2 separate regions of the Homo sapiens genome follow, and region 2 is linked to region 1. Evidence: promoter capture Hi-C in human tissues and cell types (Jung and others, 2019). All regions are on one chromosome and are shown on one strand. Each heading gives the region's core, a stretch centred on a gene start or on the middle of the fragment in contact. The rest is flanking DNA. Distances are from core to core; before and after follow the strand shown. Region 1 holds the start of SERINC5 (serine incorporator 5). Region 2 overlaps ARSB (arylsulfatase B).

Region 1 (7,706 bases), core at 4,373-6,872:
TTTTTTTTTGAGACGGAGTCTCGCTAGGTCGCCCAGGCCGGAGTGCAGTGGCGCGATCTCGGCTCACTGCAAGCTCCGCCTCCCGGGTTCACGCCATTCTCCTGCCTCAGCCTCCCGAGTAGCTGGGACTACAGGCACCCGCCACCAGGCCCGGCTAATTTTTTATATTTTTAGTAGAGATGGGGTTTCACCATGTTAGCCAGGATGGTCTCGATCTCCTGACCTCGTGATCCGCCCGCCTCGGCCTCCCAAAGTGCTGGGATTACAGGCGTGAGCCACTCTGCCCAGCCTACTCTTGTTAACCAACCACGATGCAAAGGAAGCTATTAACCAGACCTTAAATAGTAACTGCAAAGTCCTCAGAGCCAGAAGGCAGGTAAACCTCCAGATCTGGCCACATTCCTTTGAAAAAACTCTGAGTGGGGAAAGGGAATGAGCCTGTATAGACTGTTTCTTTTTAATTTTCTTTTTCTTTTCAAGATGGAGCCTCATTCTGTCGCCTAGGCTGGAGTGTAGTGGTGTTTTCTCGGCTTACTGCAACCTCCACCTCCTGGGTTCAAGTGATTCTTGTGCCTCAGCCTCCTGAGGAGCTGGGATTAAAGATGTGCCGCGACGCTCGGCTAATTTTTGTATTTTTAGTAGAGAAGAGGTTTCACCATATTGGCCAGGCTGGTCTCGAACTCCCAACCTCAGGTGATTTACCCACCTCGGCCTCCTAAAATGCTGGGATTATAGGCATGAGCCACTGTGCCCGGCCTCTTTTTTTTAATGGACAGATCCTGCCTCATGTTTGTTTGTATAAATAGAAAAGAATGGTACCAGCTCCATGCAGAAACAGATGGCAGCCCAGGGCTCACACCAGTCCTTCTGTCCTCCCATTGGTAGACAGAGGCCTCTCCTCCAGATCCTTTGTGGGTGTGCATGGGCACCCTTGGAAATTTGATCTGGAGCTGGAACTGGAACTGGAACTGGAGCTGGAACTGGAACTGGAACTGGAGCTGCAACTGAAGTCTGGGCTTTGGTTGGAGCCTTGGCCTTGGACTTTGGCCGGCAAAACCAGCCTTGGCCAGGTGGGTTCAAGCATGCTTCCTAAGCTTGGGGTGGATGATTCAGGCAAGTTGATTGAATTTTCAGCTGATGTCTTTTGGTATCTTGAGCTTGACCATGTAGGGGTGAAGGGCAAACTTCCCCTTTACCCTCTGAAGTTTCACTGAAAATCAACCGACAAGGCAGATTAAAAGGAAAAAAGGCATACAAATTTATTTGATCATAGTTTTACATGCCATGGGAGCCTTCAGAATGAAGATCCAAAGATACAGCAAAATTGTCCATTCTTATGCTTACATTCAACAGAGTATGGACAGCCATGTAGAAATGTGACTGGACAAAAAGTATATTGTTACCAGAGTGGGGTCCTCATCCAGTCCACAAGAGAGGGTTCTTGAACCTCACGCAAGAAAGAATTTGGGGCAAGTCCATAAAGTGAAATCAAATTTATTAGAGAAGTAAAGGAGGTAAAGAATGGCTACTCCATAGGCAGAGCTGCAGCATGGGCTGCTCAACTAATTATAGTTATTTCTTGATTATATGCTAAACAAGGGGTGGATTATTCATGAGTTTTCCGCGAAAGGGATGGGCAATTCCCAGAACTGAGGGTTCCTCCTCCTTTAGACCATATAGGGTAACTTCCTGATGTTTGTAAACTGTCCTGGTGCTGGTGGGAGTGTCTTTTAGCATGCTAATGAATTATAATTAGTGTATAATGAGCAGTGGGCACGACCAGAGCTCACTTTGGTCGCCATCTTGATTTTGATGGGTTTTGGCCGGCTCCTTTACTACATCCTATTTTACCAGCAAGGTCTTTGTGACCTGTATCTTGTGCTGACCCCCACCATCTCATCCTCGAAGAATGCCTTAACTTCCTGGGAATACAGCCCAGCAGGTCACAGCCTTATTTTACCCAGTCCCTATTCAAGATGGAGTCTCTCTGGTTCAAATGCCTCTGACACTATTAACCTGGTTTTGAAGATGAGGAAACTGAGGCTTGGAGGTCACCCAGCTACTTCTTGGTAGAGTTAGAATTTGCAACTTCCTGGCTTGAAAACTCAGGCTTTATCCTTTTCTGGTACCTTTCAATAGAGGCTACAAGTCCCCAGGTTATTTATTTATTTATCTATTGAGATAGAATTTTGCTCTTGTTGCCCAGGCTGGGGTGCAATGGCACCATCTAGGCTAACTGCAACCTCCGCCTCCTGGGTTCAAGTGATTCTCCTGCCTCAGCCTCCTGAGTAGCTGAAATTACAGGTGCCCACCACCCTGCCTGGCTAATTTTTGTATTTTTAGTAGAGACAGGGTTTCGCCATGTTGGCCAGGCTGGTCTTGAACTCCTAACCACAGGTGATCCACCCACCTTTGCCTCTGAAAATGCTGGGATGACAGGTGTGAGCCACCGTGCCTGGCCAAGTGCCCAGGTTATTAAGACTCTTTCTCCAGGTGGCAGACATCCACATTCTCAGAGTCCTCTCACATTGGCATGGAACTAGCAATGTAGGGGAGGGAAAAATGGCTTCCCTCTACCCTTCTAGGTTCTTTACTTGGATTGCAAATTAAATTGACATAACAGAGATTTTTTTTTTTTTTTTTGAGACGGTATCTTGCTCTGTCGCCCAGGCTGGAGTGCTGTGGCACAATCTCGGCTAACTGCAACTTCCGCCTCCTGGGTTCAAGCGATTCTCCTGCCTCAGCTTCTGAGTAACTGGGATTACAGGTGCGCACCACCTCGCCCGGCTACTTCTTTTGTATTTTTAGTAGAGATGGGGTTGCACCATGTTGGTCAGGCTGGTCTCAAACTCCTGACCTCGTGATCCGCCCACCTCGGCCTCCCAAAGTGCTGGGATTACAGGCATGAGCCACCACGCCTGGCCGACATAAGACAGATTAACAGAAGAAAAACCGTTTTAATTACCTGCATACGCAGCAGCACAGGAATCTCACAAAACATGAAGGGCCAGATGATTGAAGCTTATAGCATTCTGAGCTAGAAATAAATAAGGGCTTGGGGCTTCTGTGGGGACAGTGGGGAGGCACCACAGGTAGGATATAGGAGGGTTAGTGGAGGAAATGTATGGTAAATAATGTTGCCTTGTGGCTGCGCGCGGTGGCTCACACCTGTAATCCCAGCACTTTGGGAGGCCGAGGTGGGCGGATCACGAGGTCAGGAGTTCGAGACCAGCCTGACCAACATGGTGAAACCCCGTCTCTACTAAAAATACAAAAATTACCCGGGCGCGGTGGCGCGCGCCTGTAATCCCGGCTACTTCAGAGGCTGAGGCCGGAGAATCGCTTGAACCCGGGGGGCGGAGGTTGCAGTGAGCCGGGATCATGCCAATGCACTCCAGCCTGGGCGACTGAGCGAGACTCTGCCTCAAAAAAAAAAAAAAAAAAAAAAAAAAAAGTTGCCTTGTTATGTAAAGTCTCTCATGTAATAAAAGTTCTCTGAGCAGCTGCCTTCCTGACACAGATACTTTTACTATGTGGACTTCCTTTATAGATGTAAATTTGCTTTACAAAAGGACAGCTTTTCAGAGCTACTCCCGTGTCTGCAGTTTCTCAGAATAACCAGCTTGAAATGTGCCAAACAAGTGTATTTTGGGATAGCATATTTTGGTATTCTACAGTCATAATTTGGGGTGCTGTGGCCTGAGCCTCAGCAGCAAAAAGAGGACATGATTCAGGGTTCGGAGCGCTGGATTCTATTACCAGCTCTGCCCCCTAACCCAGTGGTCTCTTGTGAAAGGTCCTCGAGTTCCGAGTCGAGTCAATTTCCCTAAAAGGCAAAGAGGCATCGGAGTTCCAGCTGGCTTAAACATTTGTAGATTTCGCGCCTTCCCTTTTCGCCCCTCCTTCCTCTCCACCCGTCTCCCCACCCCGAGCTACTAGGGGGCCTGCCCATTTCCCCAGGCCAGGAGTAGGGCTGAAGTGAAGTGACCGCGGTCGTAGCCAACAGCGAAGCTCATTAGAAAGTCCTGGTGAGAGCCTCAGCTTCTGATGAGTCACAGATCGCCACGGAGCAGGTTGCTGCGCTTGACTGATTGGGTTTACCCTATTTTTGTTTTGAGTTAGAGCCAACTGTCCTCATTCCTTTTCGTGGCTCTGAGTAGGGCCTGCTCCATTATATCTCTTTCTCTAAACGCCTGCATCTGAGATGCTGGAAAATCCTGCGCAGCTCATAACCCAAGGCCTGGTTTCCATTCACCTTTCCTCTTCTACTCCTAAGCTGCCCAAGACACTCCTTTGCCAGAGCTCTGTCTGGAAACGAGTCCCTCTAAGGTCAAGCCTTGCGTCATGTGCCAGGGGATCAGACGAGTGGATTCCAGGCCCAGTTTTACTTCCTCAACTTTGCTGTGAGGCTTTGGGCAAGTTATTTAACCTCTCTGGGCTTCAGTTGCCTCACCGCTAAAATGGGTACGGTAATGCTTATTTGAAAGAGCAAAGGGATTGGCGCAAAAATCGCACTAACAGAAATATCTTCATTCCGGCAGGGCGCGGTGGCTCACGCCTGTAATCCCAGCACTTTGGGAGGCCGAGGCGGGCGGATCACCTGAGGTCAGGAGTTCGAGACCAGCCTGGCCAAGATGGTGAAACCCCGTCTCTACTAAAAATACAAAAAATTAGCCGGGCGTGGTGGCAGGCGCCTGTAATCCCAGCTACTCGGGAGGCAGAGGTTGCAGTGAGCCGAGATCGCGTCACTGCACTCCAGCCTGGGCGACAGAGTGAAGCTCCGTCTCAGAGAAAAAAAAGAAAAAAAAAAAAGAAATACCTTCATTCCTCTTGGGGAGGTGGCTGTGAGGACAGCAGATCTGAGTGGGAGAAAACCTAGAGACGGCCTCCCTGCCTTCTGTATGGAACAAGCAATTATTGGGCACCCTCTTTTTAGTGAGGAAGCAGGGACGGAAAATGAGTCCTTGGGCCAGCGCAGGAGGAGAGGCTGGAAAACATATCAATATTCAGGAAGGCACGGAAAGGGCTCTCAATGGATCTCTCACCAAGTGCCATCAGGGCAGAACAGTCAAGGGCCCAGGGATTCGAGGAAGCTTGGGAGGCGCGGAGAGCCCAAAAGTTGAAAGTTTTCTTGGCAGATGAGGGAAGGAAAGGGATTTCAGGAACAAGGATCTCGTGGGTGGGCTGTCCCAGTCGGCGCGCGGCAGAGCGCAGACCAGCACCCGGCGGTCTGGTCTGTGCAGGAAAGGCAGGAACCGCTTACTAAGGCTCCAACCTTTTAGAGGCAGCAACAAGCTCTTTCTCTGGATCCGAAGGCGGAGAGGCGCTGCGCTCTCATTTGGCGAGGGCCCGAGCGCGGCCAGACCGCGCACCAGACCCGGAGCGTGGGGCCCAAAGGCTGGCGGCCGACTCCGGAGCTCGGCGCCCCAACCGGGAAGTGATCGCAGCAGCCCACCCGCCTGACGCCAGCGGAAGTGCGAGCCCGGGTCGAGCCTGCTCCGCCGCCGGGCGCCCGGGAAGGGGCGGGCACGGGGCGGGGCTGGGGGCGGGCGAGGCGGGGCCGGCGGCGGGGCGGGGCTTGGCCGCAGTTGTTTTTACCCAGGCCTCGGCGCCTAGGCGCTTCGCCGAGGCTGATCTTCGTTCAAGTGTGAGCTGCGGCTGAGCCCAGCGCTCGAGGCGCGAGGCAGCCAGGAGGGCCCGTGCGGCGCGGGGAGCCAGCGAGCGCGCCTTCGGCATTGGCCGCCGCGATGTCAGCTCAGTGCTGTGCGGGCCAGGTGAGCGAGGCCGGGCGCAGCGCGGGGGTTGTCAGATCGGAGAACCGGGCCAGGAGTCCAGGCGTGGAGGACCTGCCTGGGTGCGCTCCCAGCTCCGCGGCCGAACGTAGGGCCCGGGTGGGTCGCTCGGGCTGGCCCCGCGGCGCTCAGCCGTCCGGGAAATCCTGTGCCCTGGGCGGGCGGGAAGGGGCAGGGGGAAGCCCGAGAGGCTACCCCGGGGTCTTCCCGTCCGGCCTCCGGGACTCCGCGTGGAGCGGGGCGTGCCGGGCTCGGGCGGAGGATCCCGACTGCTCCAGGGGCGTGTCGCCTCTTGCGCCGAGCACTGGTGAATAGCGCTGAGCTCCGTAGCCCTCTCCACTCTGCTTGTCGGATGAATCCAGGAAGAAAAGTGGGTTTAGGCACCGTCTCCTTTGCTATGCCCTGAATAAAACTCGGGTCAAACAACCCAGGCAGGTTGCGCTTGGCATCTCGTAGTCGAGCGTGGGCTCTGTACCTTTGAGAATGTCTCGAAGCCTGACTTCCAAACTACCGGGCGCAGGTCTGGGCGAAGGGAAAACTCAGCCCTGCTTCCTGAATTTCCCGACCCAACCCTGGCTCGGTACTAGCACGACTGCCTGGGTAGGGCTGGAACCTTCCTGCCTCTCTTTGCAAATAAACTTGTTCGAACCTGTTTTTTAACTCTCGCCTATTTAAACCTATGATGTCTTAAAACATTATGTCTCCTACCAGTTACTGCATCAGTGTAGAATTAGTACGTCTTAGCCCTGTAATGCTGGTTTCACTCCTTCCTGCAGAGTTAGAAAAAACGAAGTAGGTGAGTCTCTTGGATGTGGAGCTCTTTTCTCCCTTTACATGTGGATTATCAGCGTTTCGGTACAGAGTTTTAATGGAGTGTTTTCACGAACGAATCAGACTCTAGGGAGCATCCTGGTTCGGGGTGTTCTTGCTGACACTCAGCCTTTCCACAATCGAGGCCAGCTGTAAGTGATGGAGTGGTTAAACTGTGGGTTTCTGTAACCGGCGATTATACTGGCAGATAATCTGTCCTGTTTAGAGTGGCCACGTGGAGCTGTCTTGGTTTTTGAGGTCTAATACTGTGCTTGGCATACATTAAAGCTGGCCTTTTCAGAGTTGAGGAAATTGAGGCTTTTGACGACTGAGACGAAATGATTTTTTTTCCCTGTGTCAGGCAGAGAGAGAAAGAGAATGAGAATGGTCACCACCTTACCAGGTATTTGAGAACAAGGTGGACCAGGAAAGACTGTTTTCAGAAAGCTCTGCAAATCTTTTATTCCCGTTTTGAAATACTTTTTCTCCAATATGATGCGACACTTTTTATTACGTAGTAATGATACAGCTCTTTAGGGGCATCTGTCCTGGTCCCTTGAAGTCCCCTTGAGGCTCTTTCTGCCATTCCCAAGTTCCTAATTTAGAGCTCTGTAATTACCAGTATTCAAATGGGTTTTGTAAAAGAATTATTTTGCTGTTGATGTTTTAGCAGGTTTCTAAAGTCTCCCCTCTTAGGACTTTGGAAAGAACCAAATCAAAGTTAACCCCTGCTTTCCCAGGCCTGCTGGAGGCATCACTGTGGTGGGCCTCAGTGCTGTGTGATGGTGATCACACTGTGATTTCCTGTGGATGGGGCGGTAGGAAGTTAAAAGAAAAGCAAACAGGCTGGGCGCAGTGGCTCATGCCTGTAATCCCAGCACTTTGGGAGGCAGAGGCGGGCGGATCACCTGAGATCAGGAGTTGGAGACCAGCCTGACCAACGTGGAGAAACCTCATCTCTACTAAAAACACAAAATTGCCGGGTGTGATGACGCATGCCTGTAATCCCAGCTACACAGCTAAGGCAGGAGAATCGCTTGAACCCAGAGGCAGAGGTTGTGGTGAGCTGAGATCACGCCATTGCACTCAAGCCTGGGCAATGAG
Region 2 (3,340 bases), core at 322-2,821, 1.3 Mb after region 1:
CAAAGACGAGGGGAGAGGTAAAATGAAGGGGTGCTCGCCGTGGGTGCGACCCTGGCCCGTGGGAACCCAGCGGTGATAGGTTAGGAGTGTCCCACCAAAGATTATTTTTTTCCAGGTTCTCAACACCCCTGGAATGAAACCTGATGCTAGGTTGATTTTTCTTAGGCTGCTGACATTCCTTTCACATGTAACCTTGTATTGAACTCTTCTGAGCATCTTCATTATCGCTTTAAAAGCTTCCCTTTAGGAACGGCTCCACAGTTAACGAAGGAAATATAAATGTAGAGCGTGCATAGATGTTAGATGGCTAAGAATATCAAGAACATTTGCATAGCACTTTGTTGTTTTTAAAGTGAATTATTGAAACAGTGCATGAGGTAGTTGTTTTTACCCCGTTTTACAGACGAGGCAGGAAGCCTGTAAAGGCTCGTTGGCATAAGAATCGCACAGCTAGAAAGTGGTCAAGGCAGTGTCCGTTGTGCTTTTCCTGCATCCACTGGTCGTCCCGGGCTTATGAAATTGGCCTTTTTTCCCCTCAATCTGAATACGATTGTCATATTTCTAAGACCCTGAAGTTATTATGACCATATTAAATACAGTAAATGGGAACTGTTGGATACCACCTGCATGCCTTCACAGAGTACATATGCTGTTTACTCAACAAAAATATTTTGAGCTTACTGTGCTACTGACAGGGGATATATATTTGAATGTTGCCCTCCCAAGTGTGTGTTCGCATAACCTGTCAGATCAACCCTAGCCTCACGTGGTCCTAAGATCAAGAGAAGGGAGGGCTTACTTGTGATAAAGATATGCGCAGTGGTCTGAAGGCTTTTATAAAGAGGAAAGATTGGGTGTTGCTAAGGGTGAGAAATAGCTGTAGCCAAGGTTAGAAATGGGAGTAAAGGATGCTTCCCTTCACCATCCACCTTAGTACTTTTGGCGGTTCTGACCTTGGCTGCTACGTGTAATTAGGAATCCCCTACATTGTGTAAATCTCACCCTGGACACTTTGTGGGAGTAAAGGGATGTGCCAGTAAAGAAGAAGAAGAAGGGAAAGGTGAGGTTTGCCCAAAGGGTTCTGCATTTGCTTTGAAGTAAGAGAACTGAACTCAGATTGCAAAAGAATGGAAGGGCCATTCATTTCTCCAACTTCCTCCCTTCCAACAGAGTTGGACAGGAAAGCAAATACCAACTTCAGAAACCCATTCCTGGGCCGGGAACGGTGGCTCACGCCTGTAATCCCAGCACTTTGGAGGCTGAGGCAGGTGGATCACCTGAGGTCAGGAGTTCGAGACCAGCCTGACCAACACGGCGAAACCCCGTCTCTACTAAAACTACAAAAATTAGCCGAGTGTGGTGGCATGCGTCTATAGTCCTAGCTACTCGGGAGACTGAGTCAGGAGAATCGCTTGAACTCGGGAGGCAGAGGTTGCAGTGAGCCGAGATCGCACCACTGCACTCCAGCCTGGGCGACAGAGCAAGACTCCATCTCAAAACAAAATAAAATAAAAAACCCATTCCCGTAATCAGTTGCTTTTGTCCCCTAACATCCTCCCCCACCAGTCACCAAAATTATGTCTTGGAGAACAAACTTTAGTATTTAGAGTACCCCATGGTTATGAAGTAAAGGATGAGTAGAGAAGCTGGGCACTCTGAAAGGTTTAGAGGCCTCTCAGTGTAGCTGATTCTAAAGCAGCCTTGCTTCCCCAAACATTTTTTTTCCTCCAGTTTTCTCACCCACTTTATTCTCTTAGAGTTCATGAGACCCAAGTAGATGTTACCCAGGGTGAGCAAGTGTCCACTTTTAATGAAGTAGAAATTTCAGGGAAGGCTCAGGAGTCTCCGTCAGATACTATATGCTGGTATTGTTCTGAGCACTTACAAGTGTTAACTCATTTGATTCTCACAACAACTCTATCATCTCTGTTCTGTAACAAGGAAACTGATGCTGGAAGAGGTTAAGAAACTTGCCCAAGGTTACAGGGCTAGTATATGTTGGACCAGGATTTGACCCAGGGCACGTGGCCCTAGGGTTGATGCCTATAACCACTAAGCCATATTGCCTACTCAAAATTATTAAAAATAACATCCCAAGGACTGCTTCATACATACTAAATAATCCCTGTATTACTTTTGGACATTTGGGTCATTCCTAAATATCTCAAGGTAAAGAATCAACCCATCATATTTCTGAGTTAGGAATTGCCTATATTCCATGTAAAATAAAAATAGATTTTATTTCTGAGTCATTTGTTATGCATAATTTTAGACAATAAAATGAAGGAATTTTTTGACTGTCTCAAAATGAGTTACTTGAAGGAAGTTGTTAAGAGTCATATCTGGCCGGGCGCGGTGGCTCACGCCTGTAATCCCAGCACTTTGGGAGGCCGAGGCGGGTGGATCATGAGGTCAGGAGATCGAGACCATCCTGGCTAACAAGGTGAAACCCCGTCTCTACTAAAAATACAAAAAATTAGCTGGGCGCGGTGGCGGGCGCCTGTAGTCCCAGCTACTCGGGAGGCTGAGGCAGGAGAATGGCGTGAACCCGGGAAGCGGAGCTTGCAGTGAGCCGAGATTGCGCCACTGCAGTCCGCAGTCCGGCCTGGGCGACAGAGCGAGACTCCGTCTCAAAAAAAAAAAAAAAAAAAAGAGTCATATCTATGAACTTGGCAGTCATGCTTTAAGTTAATATTTACAGACCCCTTTCCCATAATTATTTAACTTTAGAAAAGAAAAGCACAAGTTGATAAACAAGCCTAGACTGACTGGACTTTATACTCTCATGAAATCCTGAGTTTTAGTTTTTTTGGTTTCAGAAATTATTTATTGAGTAAAGAGGACTGGTTAGGAACTGAGATGTAGGTTTTGGTCTTGGCTGGTCAGACTGTGACCTCGCTGGCCATCATTTCCACATCTGTGAAACAGAGGAGTTGGGCTGAACTCTAGACTTTGTCTAGCTCTAAATTAATTTAACTCTAAGGCTCTTGTGTCCATTAGGGCGAGTTTCTAACTTGGCAAATGCACATTATCATACCTATCATACTAACCCCATCTACTGGTAGAAAGATTAATCTTGCCCAACACAGTGTATCTTACAAATTGCGTGTACTACTTGTTCTGCTGCTAGGAACTTACTTAATTCAGCCTTTTATAGTGAGACATTTAATTGTTCACAGCCCTCACAAATGAACTATTTTAAATGTGCATGCTATGGTGAAATATGTGTAGGGACTGGGTACAGGTTGGAGGCAATGGAGGAGACTAATTAGCAGATGGGGTAAGTAGTTACTGGTAAATTCAAGAACTAGAAATTCGGCCGGGCGCGGTGGCTCACGCC

Evidence for each region. The method cuts DNA at HindIII sites, captures the fragments that hold promoters and counts their contacts. A contact is called where the count stands out against the background at its distance.
Region 2: a fragment that was not itself captured here is called in contact with the fragment with the promoter of SERINC5 in region 1 in 1 of the 25 tissues and cell types used here (lymphoblastoid cells).

The regions. Positions count from the first base shown.
Region 1 is chr5:80,253,964-80,261,669 of GRCh38, reverse strand. It overlaps SERINC5 (serine incorporator 5), which reads left to right and starts at 5,622. Exons shown (of 12, transcript NM_001174072.3): 1 at 5,622-5,774. The coding sequence starts at 5,748. RefSeq lists silencers at 926-1,220, 5,310-5,749, 5,860-6,139 and enhancers at 2,657-3,588, 3,589-4,522, 4,523-5,456. The HindIII fragment of the contact is 12,197 bases long and covers 4,058-7,706 here.
Region 2 is chr5:78,981,227-78,984,566 of GRCh38, reverse strand. The region is part of intron 1 of ARSB (arylsulfatase B); the gene reads left to right. Among named protein-coding and RNA genes, the nearest start is that of ARSB, 2.4 kb to the left of the region's middle. The HindIII fragment of the contact is 4,034 bases long and covers 1-3,340 here.